Linked DNA regions of Homo sapiens: region 1 is linked to region 2. The links are contacts of gene promoters, found by promoter capture Hi-C in human tissues and cell types (Jung and others, 2019). All regions are on one chromosome and are shown on one strand. Each heading gives the region's core, a stretch centred on a gene start or on the middle of the fragment in contact. The rest is flanking DNA. Distances are from core to core; before and after follow the strand shown. Region 1 overlaps EGF (epidermal growth factor). Region 2 holds the start of LRIT3 (leucine rich repeat, Ig-like and transmembrane domains 3).

What was found. The method cuts DNA at HindIII sites, captures the fragments that hold promoters and counts their contacts. A contact is called where the count stands out against the background at its distance.
Region 1: a fragment that was not itself captured here is called in contact with the fragment with the promoter of LRIT3 in region 2 in 4 of the 25 tissues and cell types used here (mesenchymal stem cells, mesendoderm cells, spleen and 1 more).

The regions. Positions count from the first base shown.
Region 1 is chr4:109,936,269-109,940,276 of GRCh38, reverse strand. All of the region lies in intron 1 of EGF (epidermal growth factor), which reads right to left. Among named protein-coding and RNA genes, the nearest start is that of EGF, 25 kb to the right of the region's middle. The HindIII fragment of the contact is 3,806 bases long and covers 1-3,432 here.
Region 2 is chr4:109,846,380-109,850,015 of GRCh38, reverse strand. It overlaps LRIT3 (leucine rich repeat, Ig-like and transmembrane domains 3), which reads right to left and starts at 1,909. Exons shown (of 4, transcript NM_198506.5): 1 at 1,699-1,909. The coding sequence starts at 1,814. The HindIII fragment of the contact is 6,154 bases long and covers 1,199-3,636 here.

The sequences.
Region 1 (4,008 bases), core at 280-2,779, 91 kb before region 2:
GGGCACTTTGCATTTTTATTTGCTAAATCTGGGTGGCAAACCTCACTAGATTTCTTGGTGCCTGTAGGGCCTTGCTTGGTACCCTAATCCTGTACCTGGGGTCCTCTCCTGTTCTAGGTGATGGCCACCTACCAACTCTGATGCCCCAATATTCAATATCTACTTGGGAACCTGATCCCTTCTTGGGAAACCTCACCACTAATTACTGACAGACTCCACACACAGCTTGCCTGTGATGCTCTGAGATGACACCAGAGGATGAAATTAGTTACATCAAGTCAAGTTAGTTTTCTTGGTCTCTCTCTCTTGACCAAGTGTGAGGAGGCTTGGGCCACTCTGCCTTTAGAAAATGACAGAATCACTGGGGTAAGTGGGGAATGGAGGGGAATTCTAACATATTCTTGCTTCTGTGCTGGGCTTACTCCATTCTGTTTTATCATCAAAAGTAATACTTTAATATGACTTAATAAATGTGTTTATTGTAAGCATTGAACAAAATGATGGGTTAACATCCTTTTACTCAGGGACTATGTTCTAGAGTCAGAAAACACTAACTCCACTTTGGAGAGTACGTTGAATTAAAGCTACAAGAGGGTTGGCGCTTCCAAGATGGCCGAATAGGAACAACTCAGGTCTACAGCTCCCAGCAAGATTGACACAGAAGATGGGTGATTTCTGCATTTCCAACTGAGGTACCTGGTTCATCCCACTGGGACTGGTTGGACAGTGGGTGCAGCCCACGGAGGGCCAGCCGAAGCAGGGTGGGGTGTTGCCTCATGTGGGAAGTGCAAGGGGTCAGGGGATTTCCCTTTCCTAGCCAAGGGAAGTTGTGAGTGCCTGTAACTGGAGGAACTGTACACTTTTGTCCAAATACTGCGCTTTTCCCACGGTCTTTGCAACCAGCAGGCCCGGATGTTCCCTCCCCTGCCTGGCTCAGCTGGTCCCATACCCATGGAGCCTTGCTCACTGCTAGCGCAGCAGTCTGAGATCGATCTGGGATGCTAAAGCTTGGTGGAGGGAGGGATGCCACCATTGCTGAGGCTTGAGTAGGTAGTGCTATGCTCACAGTGTAAACAAAGAGGCAGGGAAGCTCGAACTGGGCAGAGCCCAACGCAGCTCAACAAGGCCTACTGCCCCTTTAGATTCCACCTCTGGAGGCAGGGCATATCTGAACAAAAGGCAGCAGACAGCTTCTACAGACTTAAACATCCCTGCCTGACAACTCTGAAGAGAGCAGTGGTTCTCCCAGCACAGCGTTTGAGATCCATTAACAGACACACTGCCTCCTCAAGTGGGTCCCTGAGCCTGTGTAGCCTCACTGGGAGACACCTCCTAGTAGGGGCCAACAGACACCTCATACAGGCAAGTGCCCCTCTGGGACAAAGCTTCCAGAGGAAGAATCAGGCAGCAATATTTGCTCTTCTGTAGCCTCCACTGGTGATACCCAGGCAAACAAGGTCTAAAGTGGACCTCCAGCAAACTCCAACAGATCTGCAGCTGAGTGGCCTGTCTGTTAGAAGGAAAACTAACAAACAGAAATGAATAGCATCAACATCAACAGAAAAGACATCCACATCAAAACCCCATCCGTAGGTCACCAGCATCAAAGACCAAAGGTAGATAAAACCGCTAAGATGGGAAGAAACCAGAGCAAAAAGGCTGAAAATTCCAAAAACCAGATTGCCTCTTCTTTTCCAAAGGAACACAATTCCTTGCCAGCAAGGGAACAAAACTGGACAAAGAATGAGTTTGACAAGGTGACAGAAGTAGGCTTCAGAAGATCAGTAATAACAAACTTCTCCGAGCTAAAGGAGCATGTTCTAACCCATCGCAAGGAAGCTAAAAACCTTGAAAAAAGGTGAGACAAATGGATAACTAGAATCAACAGTGTAGAGAAGAGCTTAAATGACCTGATGTAGCTGAAAACCACAGCACAGGAACTTCGTGACACATGCACAAGCTTCAATAGTCAATTCAATCGAGCGGAAGAAAGGATGTCAGCAATTGAAGATCAAATTAATGAAATAAAGCAAGAAGACAAGATTAGAGAAAAAAGAGTGAAAAGAAACAAACAAAGCCTCAAAGAAATATGGAACTATGTGAAAAGACCAAATCTACATTTGATTGGTGTACCTGAAAGTGACGGGGAGAATGGAACCAAGTTAGAAAACACTCTTCGGCATATTATCCAGGAGAATATCTCCAACCTAGCAAGGCAGGCCAACATTCAAATTCAGGAAATACAGAGAACACCCCCAAAGATACTCCTCGAGAAGAGCAACCCCAAGACACATAATTTTCAGATTCACCAAGGTTGAAATGAAGGAAAAAATGTTAAGGGCAGCCAGAGAGAAAGGTCGAGTTACCCACAAAGGGAAGCCCATCAGACTAACAGCAGATCTCTCTGCAGAAATCCTACAGCCAGAAGAGAGTGGGGGCCAATATTCAACATTCTTAAAGAAAAGAATTTTCAACCCAAAATTTCATATCCAGACAAACTAAGCTTCATAAGTGAAGGAGAAATAAAATCCTTTAAAGACAAGCAAATGCTGAGAGATTTTGTCACCACCAGGCCTGCCTTACAAGAGCTCCCGAAAGAAGCACTAAATATGGAAAGGAAGAACCGGTACCAGCCACTGCAAAAACATGTCAAATGGTAAAGACCATGGACGCTATGAAGAAACCAGCTAGCACCATAATGACAGGATCAAATTCACATATAACAATATTAACCTTAAATGTAAATGGGCTAAATGCCCCAATTAAAAGACACAGACTGGCAAATTGGATAAAGAGTCAAGACCATCAGTGTGCTGGTTTCAGGAGGCCCATCTCATGTGCAAAGACTCACATAGGCTCAAAATAAAGGGATGGAGGAAGATCTACCAAGCTAATGGAAAGCAAAAAAAAAAAAAAAGCAGGGATTGCAATCCTGGTCTTTGATAAACAGACTTTAGAGAAACAAAGATCAAAAGAGACAAAGAAGACCATTACATAATGGTAAAGGGATCAATGCAGCAAGAAGAACTAAGTAGCCTAATTATATGTACACCCAATACAGGAGCACCCAGATTCATAAAGCAAGTTCTTAGAGACCTACAAAGAGACTTAGACTCCCACACAATAAAAGTGGGAGACAATAACACCCCACTGTCAATATTAGACCAACGAGAAAGAAAATTAACAAGGATATTCAAGACTTGAACTCAGCTCTGGACCAAGCAGACCTAATAGACATCTACAGAACTCTCCACCCCAAATCAACAGAATACACATTCTTCTCAGCATCACATCACACTTATTCTAAAATTGAACACGTAATTGGAAGTAAAACACTCCTCAGCAAATGCAAAAGAACAGAAATTGTAACAGTCTCTCAGACCACAGTCCAATCAAATTGGAACTCAGGATTAAGAAACTCACTCAAAACCCCACAACTACATGGAAACTGAGCAACCTTCTCCTGAATGACTACTGGGTAAATAACGAAATTAAGGGAGAAATAAATAAGTTATTGGAAACCAATGAGAACAAAGACACAATGTACCAGAATCTCTGAGACACAGCTAAAGCAGTGTTTATACGGAAATGTATACACTAAATGCCCACAGGAGAAAGCAAGAAATATCCAAAATCGACACCTTAACATAACAATTAAAAGAACTAGTGAAGCAAGAGCAAACAAATTCAAAAGTTAGAAGACAAGAAATAACTAAGATCAGAGCAGAACTGAAGGAGATAGAGATATGAAAAACTCTTCAAAAAATTAATGAATCCAGGAACTCGTTTTTTTGAAAAGATTAACAAAATAGACTGCTAGCCAGACTAATAAGGAAGAAAAGAGAGAAGAATCAAATAGACACAATAAAAAATAATAAAGGGGATATCACCACCGATCCCACAGAAATACAAACTACCGTTAGAGAATACTATAAACACCTCTATGCAAATAAACTACAAAATCTGGAAGAAAGGGATAAATTCCTGGACACATACCCCCTCCCAAGA
Region 2 (3,636 bases), core at 660-3,159:
TCCTCTAGGGATATCTCTTACTTTTCATCTCTATTTTATATCACAGATTTCAGTACTACTTTATACCAGAATGGTAGCAGTTTCTACTCATTAAGAAAGTATTGGCCGGGTGCGGTGGCTCACGCCTGTAATCCCAGCACTTTGGGAGGCCGAGGTGCGTGGATTACCTGAGGTCAGGAGTTTGAGACCAGCCTGGCCAACATGATGAAACCCCATCTCTACTAAAAATACAAAAACTAGCTGGGCATGGTGGCACACGCCTGTAATCCCAGCTCCTTGGGAGGCTGAGGCAGGAGAATTGCTTGAGCCCGGGAGATGGAGGTTGCAGTGAGCCGAGATTGTGCCACTGCACTCCAGCCTGGCTGACAAAGTGAGACTCTGTCTCAAAATAAATAAATAAATAAAATAAGTATCTCAGCATGCTATCATAGAAGAAAGTCTAGTTTGTACGCTAAAAGATCTAGCATCTTTATGAACTTAGTTACTACATCAACACAATTATATGATCTAGGACAAGTCATTTGGTCTCCATACAGTTTAGTTTCTTCACTTATAAACTGACAAGGGGTTGAACTAGATTATTTCTTGCCAGGCCTAATATTCTATAATTTTTATAAAATCCATCAATAATGGGGTCACCACAAAGAAGGAAACATTTCTGTGATAGTTTCTCAAAAGTACCCTGGCCTGATCCTTCACTGCTACACGTCCCTGGACAAGTAGGTCTTTAACTTGCTACATTCTCTTCATTGTCTTTAACCACCCAGTGAATATCTCAAAAAATACCAAGAATTGGTTAACTAAAGTTTATACAATAACAAGATAAGCTTTTCACAAATATGTCTTATTTATTATTATTTATTTGTTTAAAGTTATAAGACATAAATTGGGCAACTCTTTTAACAAATTATTTTATCTGAGACACCGTTTACTTCAACCAAGTCACAAATAACCTGATTTTGTTATTAAATAACCTCTCAAAAAAAAAATTCAAGTTCTACTGTGTTTAGCTAGCAAGAGTTCTGTTTTGCATTTAACATATCTAAAAGGCCTCATGCACAATATAAGTAAATAACTCTTCTCACTACACAAGTAGATGCTAAAGCAACCTAGAGATTGAATAACTTCTGTGAGATCCTGCAGTGTCTGAAACAGACAGTATCTTTTTCAATCTTCTTTATTTTGTAAATTCCATCAGCTTAAAATGAAAAATTCTAACTATTAACCTCTCTAACTTCACTCTTGAGATCTTTCTTTCTGCCATTCAATTGGCATGAATAGTTCTCAAAGGAAGTGGAGAGCCATGAAAGCAAAGGATCTGAGCATGTCACGCAGCTCCTGTTCAGCCTGCCCTCTTAGCCTTTCTATAATCAAGGGCTTAGCTGGCCATGCACCTTTAAATCGTTTGATCTCAAGCAACAATTTGTGAACATGAGCATAATAAAAATTTTGGAACATAGAATGTGTTTAGAAATTTCCAATACCTTGAGAGGCCTTTGAGAGTTAAACTGCTCAAAACGAAAACAGTGAAGGAGTAGGTGACCAGTGTTAAAACAATTAAGTTAAAGCTTATGGACACTAAACATTCTCTTCTGTGATTTCTGATCCCCAAACATTTGCTTTCAAAAGTAGGCTTTCTTGTTTGGGTCCTTTTTGTCAAAATAATGAGAACACTTAGTAACAAGCAGAGGAGCATACCTTGATCCTGAGCCGTCATTTCTGCCGTGATAATCACAGGTGCACTGTGAAGGACACAAACAGCCCACTCCTTCCAAAAAGCTAAGGACAATGCACAGACATGCAAAGAGATGCATTGCTCCTTTTAGAGGTTATTTAAACAAAAGGTAAAAACCGAATCCTAAGCATTCAGAACCTGGTATGCCTGGAATACAAACAGCCATTTAGTAACAGCAGATTACACGGGATTAGCTGAGATCTGTAGTTACTTAACCTTCAAGTGTATCTTGCAGGAGATCAATTGATCCAGCCTTTGAATACAGTTTCAGCAAAGTAACACATTCTAAGGAAAATGAAAATCAAACACATGACAAGCAATTTCAATAGTTACCCGTAACTAGATTTGCAAGAAAATGCCTATTAAATCCCTTTCTTCTGGATGTACTTGCCACTACACCTTAAAAATATACTTAATGTAAAATAATTCAGTCTTGGCAGATGCAAGAAAATTCTGTAGATTATTTACATGTTACAACATTATAAAATGTTTTGCATTTGGTTTTTGCCAGAATGTGTTACTAATTCAGTTTTACAAAATTTAGTTTTAAAAATAGAAGCACATGACATAAAAATGATTTAGAAAAGAGTTATCGATGTTGCCACATACTGGCTATCTCTAAAAGTAAAGTAAAACAAGTCAGTTACACAGATTTTATAGGGAAAATGCTTCAATCCACTACTGATGTGGCAGGACTAAGTTCTCCAATAAGAACGTGTTCTGAGACTCTTCCAGGTCATCTCAGTGTGTGGAAGGTTTATCCCAGCACATTTATTTTTAATGCAGGCAACTATCTCTGTTCAATAGTTTCCCAAGTTATCAGCATCAAAGCCATATTTGAAGATCAACTCTAATTCTTTCAGCTATATTAGGCTCTGTCAGAAAATAAAAATTAAATGTAATTAAATTTAAAAGTATCTCCACACTCATAGAGTGGAGAATCCACAGGGACAATCAAGGATTTAAGTAATAAATATACGTCATTTAACCTTCTTAGTGGCTGCTTCTAACCATCCTCTTTAACTAAAAACCTTTTTAAAAGAAAATTAATTCTATAAAAATAAGCATATTATAGAAAATGTTATTTAAAACCAATAGAATGTATATAAAAACCATACAGTCTGAAAAACTGTGCTCAATTAAAATAAAATACTGCAGGTTTTCAGATTCTGCACAACTCGTTTGTTCATCAAATATTTACTGAGTACTTATTCTCTGCTGAGCATTGAGGGGTACAAAGATAAATAAGACAGTTATTACACATAAGGAACTCACACGATAAAGGGAGGAACAGACTACTAAAGAAGCACGAGAAAAGAGCATCAAACCCAGCCTGTGTTAGTCAAGCAAGACTTCCTAGGGTGGGTGGTGCCTGGCTGCCTTTTACAGGGTGCATGACGATGTATTATGGGAAAATCCAGAAAGTTGCATTGCAAGCAAAGGGAATAGTGGGAACAAAGGGAGGGAAGTGAGAAACAGTGTATTGTCCTCAGAGAATTTCAAGCACTTCTTGTTGCTCAGGCATAAGATTTTGAGGCAGGAAGTTAAAAAAGATAAAGCTGGAGAGATAAGCGGGGATGAAGTTATCAAGGAAACCCTTAGATTCCCTATGGAGAGCTTACTCTCAGCCTACAGGCAATGGGAGCAATAAAAGTTAGGCTTGGGAGTGGCATATCAGCTTATCCTTTCAGGAAGAATTCTCTGGCGGCTGTGTGGAGAAAAGGTTTAGACAGAGCAAGCAAGAAGAAAGGAGGAAGCTTCTAGATAGAGCAAGCAAGAAGAAAGGAGGAGGCTTCAGGTGGATGTCTGTGGTTATAGTCCAGGTGAGCAGCCATTAGGCTACAGCCTTGACTGCTGTGCTAGTAATCGTTAGGATAATGCAGCTTCAGGAAACACCCAGG